Regions from separate parts of the Homo sapiens genome. Here regions 1 and 3 are each linked to region 2. Evidence: promoter capture Hi-C in 16 types of primary human blood cells and fetal thymus (Javierre and others, 2016). All regions are on one chromosome and are shown on one strand. The core of a region is centred on a gene start or on the middle of the fragment in contact, and the rest is flanking DNA. Distances in the headings are between cores, read along the strand shown. Region 1 has its middle 92 kb from the start of TNFRSF11A. Region 2 holds the start of SERPINB8 (serpin family B member 8). Region 3 has its middle 19 kb from the start of ZCCHC2.

What was found. Contacts are between HindIII fragments. The CHiCAGO score rates a contact against its expected background, and 5 or more counts as called.
Region 1: a fragment that was not itself captured here is called in contact with the fragment with the promoter of SERPINB8 in region 2 in 2 of 17 cell types (activated CD4 T cells and non-activated CD4 T cells); the score reaches 9.4 in activated CD4 T cells.
Region 3: a fragment that was not itself captured here is called in contact with the fragment with the promoter of SERPINB8 in region 2 in 1 of 17 cell types (non-activated CD4 T cells); the score reaches 5.1 in non-activated CD4 T cells.

The regions. Positions count from the first base shown.
Region 1 is chr18:62,416,360-62,419,059 of GRCh38, forward strand. No RefSeq gene overlaps it. Among named protein-coding and RNA genes, the nearest start is that of TNFRSF11A, 92 kb to the left of the region's middle. RefSeq lists an enhancer at 2,026-2,075. The HindIII fragment of the contact is 6,401 bases long and covers 1-2,700 here.
Region 2 is chr18:63,968,654-63,971,353 of GRCh38, forward strand. It overlaps SERPINB8 (serpin family B member 8), which reads left to right and starts at 1,428. Exons shown (of 7, transcript NM_002640.4): 1 at 1,428-1,517. LOC105372165 (a long non-coding RNA gene) reads right to left here and starts at 1,851. Exons shown (of 3, transcript XR_935576.3): 1 at 670-1,851. It also overlaps a transcript of HMSD not described here. RefSeq lists enhancers at 1,260-1,309, 1,340-1,509, 1,802-2,096 and silencers at 1,570-1,769, 1,780-1,839, 1,910-2,129. The HindIII fragment of the contact is 1,474 bases long and covers 459-1,932 here.
Region 3 is chr18:62,502,456-62,505,155 of GRCh38, forward strand. No RefSeq gene overlaps it. Among named protein-coding and RNA genes, the nearest start is that of ZCCHC2, 19 kb to the right of the region's middle. The HindIII fragment of the contact is 7,862 bases long and covers 1-2,700 here.

The sequences.
Region 1 (2,700 bases), core at 79-2,578, 1.6 Mb before region 2:
TGAAACCCCTTCTCTATTAAAAATTAAAAAATTAGCTGGGCGTGGTGGTGCGTGCCTGTAATCCCAGCTACTCAGGAGGCTGAGGCAGGAGAATCGCTTGAACCTGGGAGACAGAGGTTGCAACGAGCCGAGATCGCGCCACTGCACTCCAGCCGGAGTGACAGAGTGAGACTCTGTCTCAAGACAATAAATGAATAAATGCAATTAAAAGTTTTAAAAAGTCCCAGATATCACATAATTTTATCTTTTAAAAAGCCTTTAGTTTATATCACTAAAGATAAGGCAATTTTTAAACATACTACAGTATCATCACATCTAAAAATATTAGTAATAATTCCTAGATACCATCAAATAAACAGAAAGTCTAGCTGTCATACCTGTACCCTCCTCTGTTGCCTCCCTCTCCCACAGTAATATTTTTTAGTTTTGATTTGTCCTTCAATTATTTTTTTATGTAAGCAAATAAATATAGTAAATATTTGTTGTTTTTTCCTTCACAGAGAAGAGGTAACCCATTATACACATTTTCTGCATCTGGATTGCACTTAAAAATTATTCTCACTTGACACCAATACATAGAAAACTTTGTTCTTTTTTTCAGCTACATAGTACTCCAACATGTGAAGGTACTTTATTCAACCATTACTCTGTTGATGGACATTTGGGCTATTCCCAGTTTTTTGCTCTTACTAGCAGTGTCATCATGAAAAGCCTTGTGTATATGAATTTCTTATTTTGAGAGCATCTTTGGAATAGATTCCTAGAAGTGGGATTGATGAGTCAAAAGGCAAATGCATATAATGTTGCTAGCTATTGTCAAACTCTCTTCTATAAAGATTATACCACTTAATATTGCCAGCAGAAATGAGTATGGTGTCCTTCTTTATGATTTTTTTGGCCCTCTGAGAAATGAGAAGTAGTATCTCAGTGAGGTTTCAATTTCCTTTTTTTTTTTTCTGTAATCTATATTTTGAGAACTTCATTCTAAGAGAACAAGACTCCTTTTGGACAGTAACACCATTGGAATTGTCAAAAAAGAAAAATCTTCCCTGGTTACATTATGTGTTGAATAAAGAAGTTTTTCTTGCAGATAGGCTTGAGTTGTCAAGTTTTCATTCAGAGCAGCTCAAGCATGGGGAGTTTATGAAAATGGAATCGTTGAAATTCATAGAATGAGAAGCCTCAAAGAGCTCTTTTTACCAGCATATTCCATTGAATACCTTTGGAGACATTCATACCCATCAAATACTCAGAGCATACTTTTTGAGAAGATTAAACCTAACTTAGAAGTTGGAGGTTCTTGGCACAATAAAGAAAAGCAATGCTTAACCCTGAAAGATTAACTGGGGAAAAACATGATACCTTCAGTCAAAACTTTATGGAACTTTTATTTTAAAAAACTTCATTTCACCCTACCCATGACCAAGTACCCCCCAAGAAATGTTTAGAACATATCATTTATATGAGCTGTTTGAATTTAAACACTGAATAAATGCTTGCAAAAGCATATATTTGTCCTAACTTCTATTTTATTTTTAAATCAACTTTGGCATTTTCACACTGTAAAGTGAGTTTTTTATGTGAGGGCTTGCTTTACAGAAATTTCAATATCCCATGTTTACAAAGAAGCACTCACTGAGGATTCAATTCTCTTGCAATTAATTTTCCCAAGTTGCCAGCTAGCAGGCTACCAATCTATGGAGCGTTCAACATTTAGGGATGAACTTTCATGGGCCCTGGGGATGCAAAGATTACTACTTTGTGGTTCCTCGGTAGAGGAGCTGAAAAGTAAACATGTAAATTAAAACAGCCTATGACATAGGACCAACCAGGGTGTGTTGTCATTGTTGACATGTATCTCTACCAGAAAAGTTCACTCTTCTTTATAAATGACAGCATTATTGAGCTGTTACCAACAGTAATTCACATGACCAATGGTGGACAACCAGGACTCCAAGATGGTGTCAGTTGCACCAGTGAAAGAGAGGAAAGTCATGGATGCCTAACTTGGGGAGCTGCCAAGCTGGCTATTGATGTGGGGTTTCACCCTGAAAGGCATGATTGGAGCATTTCAAAGAAGTTACTACCCGCATTAGAACAAGTGCCTCACAGGAAGGAAGGGAGCATTGCAGGGGTTTCTATAGCTGGCAGCTTACAGCTTTTCCTCTATGTTCTTTCTTACAAAGAGCTCAACTGTGAGCAACTCTGCAAGCATCACCTAAGAGGGGCCAGTGAAGGGTGCACTCTGCCCTTCTGACCATGACCTCCTTGGCCCATCACCCCTTTGTGAGAAACTCCATCACTGCTGAATCCTTTTATATCCTAATTGAGAACTAACGCCCAAACAGAAGATGACTGGTATGTGTAAAGAAATACAAATAATAAAATTCACATACCATATAATTCATCTCTTTAAAGTGCACAATTCAATGGGTTTTTTGTGTGTACATTCAGAGTTGTGCAACCATCACCACATTCAATTTTTAGAACAATTCATCACCCCCAAAAAGAAACTGTGCATCCACTCACAGTCACTCACTATTTCTTCCAACCTGCACCCCCCACCCCCAGCCCTGAGTGACCACTAATCTTTGCATTCTCCCTAGATTTACCTATCTGGGATATTTCATACAATGAAATGAAAATGAAATCATACAGTATGCAGTCGTGGTGACTGTCCTCTTTCATAATGTTTTTGAG
Region 2 (2,700 bases), core at 178-2,677:
TGTTTTGCTGGTCAAAGAGGAAAAGGAGTGGATGGACAAAGTGGGGCCCAAAGTCTGGATCTAGTTCTGACCAACAAGGAGAAATTGATGCACAATGGGGAAGTGACCTTGGCATTTTCAACTGGCAGAGCCGGTAAGTTTGGGCACAGTTCAAATGTGAGTCTGTAGCCACTAGAGAGAGGGGTTTCAAAGTCATGGAGAAAAGATGGGGGTGAATCCTGCACCAAGACTTATTGAGGAGAGTTCTTGGGAACAGTTACTTTTAGGATTCCACAGGGAAATCACTGAGCGAGTTTTACAAAATACTGCTGCTGGGTTCCCTCCTCCAAGAGATCTTTACTTAATTGGTTTGGGGTGCAGAGTGGGAATGTGCATCTTTAAAAGCAGAATTCCCAAACTGGAGAGCTCTGTGAGAGCTTCCTGCAGGAGACATTATTTGAACTGAATTTTGAAAGACAAGCTTGCATGCCAGGAACCCCATGTATATGAACAGAGGATATGAAGGAATGTAAATAATTTGCTATGGCTCTAAAGAAAAGAAGGGAGAAATCAAGACGTGAAGAGGCTTACACTCCTTGCTCAATAGTTTCTAATTTATCTTTTTGGATAAGAGGATGTTATAAAGGATTTTAAACTGAGGTATAAAATAATTAGAATTGGAATGTTTACCTGAACTTCAGAGTAGGCAATAGGTTGGCATGGATCAGAACTGTAGGTAGGAAAATTAATTGTTTAGGAGAGACATGAGACATGATAGAGGTGACAGAGTATGGACAGGAGGAACACAAAAGTGATAGAAGTAACAGGACTGTTGATCATTTAGTTAAAAGAACTGCGGAGGGACACACCCAGGTTTCTGAGAGATGTCCAGTAGTACACAGGTAACATCTACGGCTCGAGACAGGTTAGAGATTTTGAAGAAATAAGTTAAAAGTTGAAACATGAACCTATGGATATAGTGGAGGTCATACAAGAAGATCATATTATAATGAAAAGAAGAGGGCTTAGAATGGTAGGAAAGGAATCAGGATACCAAGCAAAGGAGTCAGGAAAGAAGGGAAGGGTGCTCTGGAAATCCTGGGAAGGTCAAAGAAGAAAGGGCTAAATGTCGCCAACAAACAAAATGAAATAAGACCTGGGATGTATTTTTTGGCCAAGGCAATTAGAAAATGATTAGTATCCTTATCAGGAGCAATTTCAGAGAATGTTTGGGTGGACGTCTAACTACAGTGGAGTCAAACGTGAATCAACGGTGAAAAAAGGACAATAGCCAATGTGTACACTTTTTATAAAAACCACCCTCCAAGGACCAGGCACTGGCCCTCTCTCCGGTGCCCACAGACATCCACACAGGCCCAAAGAATCAGGGATTGCACAAGCCAGAGCAATCGAACGGTTCTGAGTCATCTGCCGGAAGCCTTGCCCTCAATCAAGGCGGACGTGAAGCATCTACAAAGGAGGAATAGTCAAAGCAGCAGCGGCGGCGGCGGCGGCGGCAGCAGCAGCAGCAGCAGGAGGTGGGGGCCTCTGCCAGGTACCGGGCGGGGCAGGCACGGAGGTGCCCAGGTTCCCGCGGAGGCCACCTCTTCCCTGGAGTGCGTGAGAGAGGGGAAGGGAGGAAGGCCAGAGCAGGAATCAGAGCGAGGCAAAGGCGGGCAGGAACTAGGAGAATGACGGCGGGAGGCGGCCGGGAAAGAGAGTCGCGGGGCTGTGGGGGTCGCCCTGGCACCAGCCGGGGTCCCAAGCCCCACCGCGAGACCCGGCGAAGGCCGAGGGCCGGGTCCCGAGAACAGGTGCGCCCAGACCCGCCCTGAATAGGAAGCTGCCCCTGGAGAGGGAGCGTCTGTTTCTAGGCTTGCGATTTGCTGCGCTGTGATTTGCTGCCGGATGGGAGCGGGGGGTGACGCGAGCAGTGAGTTTGGAAGCGCCGGAAGCTTGGGCGGGAGCCCCGGGAGGGCGAGTGGGAGGAGCCGCCGCTGCGGAGGAGGCTCCGGGAGTGCGGGTGGCGGGGCCTGGAATTTCCGTGGCGCCTGGGGCAGATCGGGGAGGCGCCGAGTCCCTGCTCCCCTGGCGCCCAAGCTTGCCCCTGTGCTTACAGCCTATTGGTTGCACCTTCTCCTTCCCTTCCTGTCCCCCCCCTCCGTTCTTTCCACCCCTGCCTTCATCTTTCTGTATCTTTCATATTCTCTTCTTCATTGTCTGCTTCCTCTCAAATGGGATGGGGTTGGGGGTGCTTCTTCACCTACGCCCCTCTCTGTTGCAGCCACCGGCGTTACTTTAACCAATTCCTCACTTTCCAGACACTCTCAGTCCTCTGGCTGCTGCTTCACTCCTGAGACCTCTCCATTCCAAAGGGCCTCACCCAGGGCTGCTCTCCGGGCCCCTCCCGCTTCCCTGCCTCGGGCTCTGCGTAGACCGCGCCCTCTTCCCTGGGTCCACTCGCAGGGGCAGACTCGTCTCCCCAGTTCTCCCAGCACACCCTGATGGCTGGGTCTCAGTCTCCGTTTCGCGCGCGCGCTCTCCCCTCGCCCTCCTCTGTCTCTTCCTTTTACTACCTCCAGATATTGGAAATTCCACAGAAATAGGTGGATTTCTTCCCTTGTGCCTCCACTAGATGTTCTGTGTAGTTTCATCCATTCTCATGGAACCTCTCGGAATCGGGATGCTGATGGCTCCAGGTCTCTGGCTCTAGACAGTCTA
Region 3 (2,700 bases), core at 151-2,650, 1.5 Mb before region 2:
ACAGTTGGGTGGGGGGAGGGAAACAGAAAATAGGGGCTGGGCGCGGTGGTTCACGCCTGTAATCCCAGCACTTTGGGAGGCCGAGGCCAGTGGATCACGAGGTCAGGAAATCAAGACCATCCTGGCTAACAAGGTGAAACCCTGTCTCTCCTAAAAATACAAAAAATTAGCCAGGCGTGGTGGCAGGTGCCTGTAGTCCCAGGTACTCGGGAGGCTGAGGCAGGAGAATGGCGTGAACCCAGGAGGCGGAGCTTGCAATGAGCTGAGATCGCGCCACTGCACTCCAGCCTGGGCGACAGAGCGAGACTCCGTCCAAAAAATAAAAATGAAAATAACAGAAAGTAACAAGTATTGGCGAGGATATTGAGAAGTTAGAACCATTGTGAAGTGATGTAGCCCTTGTGGAAAACAGTTTGGTAGTTCCTCAAAAAGGTATACAGAATTATCATACGATTTAACATCCTGGGTATATACCTCAAAAAACCGGAAAACAGGTACTCAAATAATTGTACAGTAATATGCATAGCACCACCATTCACAATAGCCAAAAGGCAAAGCAACCCACATGCCCGTCAACAGATAAATAAAACGTGGTAGGCACCTACCATGGGATATAATTCAGCCATAATACCGCAATGCTACATGCTTCATTCTACCATGGGGATGAACTCAAAAACAGTATGAGAAGTGAGACGACAGACACCAAATGTCATTGATTGTAGGATTGCATTTGTATGGCATATTGGGAAGAGGTAAATCCCACAGAGACAAAAATACTTTAGCTGTTGGCAGGGATTGAAGAGAGGAGGGGAGTGGGGAGTGAGTGCTTCATGGGTACAGGATTTCCTTTCAGGTCACACAAATGCTTTGGAGCAAGCTACAGCGGATTGTTGCGCAGTACAGTGAACGCACCAAATACAACTGAATTCTACACAGTTGAACATCCCTAATCCGAAAATCTAAAATCTGAAATGCTCCAAACTCTGAAACTTTTTTGGGGGGTGGGGGGGATGGAGTTTCGCTTTTTCGCCCAGGTTGGAGTGCAGTGGTGCGATCTCGACTCACCGCAACCTCTGCCTTCCAGTTTCAAGGGATTTTCCTGCCTCAGCCTCCAGAGTAGCTGGGACTAGAGGCGCCCGCCACCACGCCCAGCTAATTTTTGTATTTTTAGTAGAGACGGGGTTTTACCATGTTGGCCAGTCTGGTCTGAAACTCCTGACCTCGTGATCCGCCTGCCTCGGCCTCTCAAAGTGCTGGGATTACAGGCGTGAGCCACCACATCCGGCCTTTAAAAAAAAATTATAAAGAAAAGAGATTTATTTGGCTCACAATTCTGCAGGGTACACAAGAAGCCCGCTGCCAACATCTGCTTCTGATGAGGACCTCAGGAAACTTGTGATCATAGCGGAAGGGGAAGGAGATAAAGCATCGCTTGGCTAGAGTGGGAGGAGGAGGGAGGGAAGGAGGTGTCAGGCTCTTTTTAACAGTCAAATGTTGCAAGAGGCCGGGCGCAGTGGCTCACGCCTGTAATCCCAGCACTTTGGGAGGCCGAGGCGGGCGGATCACGAGGTCAGCAGTTTGAGACCAGCTTGGTGAACATGGTGAAACCCTGTTTCTACTAAAAATACAAAAATTAGCGGGGCATGGTGGTGGGCGCCTGTAATCCCAGCTACTCGGGAGGCTGAGGCAGGAGAATCGCCTGAAACCGGAAATCGGAGATTGCAGTGAGCCGAGATTGCCCACCGCACTCCAGCCTGGGCGCCAAAAGCGAAACTCCGTCTGGTTGCAGGAACCGGTAGAAAAGGAACTCAGTCATTACTGTGAGGACAAGGACAGGACCCAAGCCATTCATGAGGGACCCACCTCCCTGACCCAAACACCTCTCACCAGGCCCCACCTCCACCCAAACGCCTCTCACCAGGCCCCGCCTCCAACACAGGGTCAAATTTCTCCCTCTTTTTTTTTTTTTTTTTTTTAATAATTATTTTTTTGAGACGGAGTCTCACTCTGTTCCCAGGCTGGAGTGCTGCAACCTCCGCCTCCCGGGTTCAAGCGATTCTCCTGCCTCAGCCTCCTGAGTAGCTGGGATTCCAGGCGCGTGCCACCATGCCCAGCTAATTTTTGTATTTTTAGCAGAGACGAGGTTTCCCCATGTTGGTCAGGCTGGTCTCGAACTCCTGACCTCGTGATCCGCCCGCCTCGGCCTCCCAAAGTGGTGGGATTACAGGCATGAACGACTGTGCCTGGCCAATTTCAACATGAGGTTTGGAGAGGACAAATATCCAAACTACATCAACTGTGTTACAGAAGATTCTGCCCGTCTGTAGACTAATGTAAATGTTCTTAGCATGGTTTAAGGCAGGCTAGGCTAAGCTCTGATGCTTGGTAGGTTAGGTGTATTAAATGCATTTTCGACTCATCATCAAAATCTGAAACTTTTTGAATGCTGATATGATGCCACAAGTGGTAAATTCCACACAAAAATACTTATCACAAACTTTGTTTCGTGCACAAAACTATTTAAAATATTGTAAAAAGCTACCTTCAGGTTTTAGTTAATTTTATGTTGAGTGAACTTTACATCAATAAAATAGAATAAATTTTAAAATGACAACAACCACCAGACTCTTGACCCTCTCTCAGGTACCACACTTGAGCCCAGGACCTCTGTGGAGCTGCCTCCATGGGAATCAACCACAG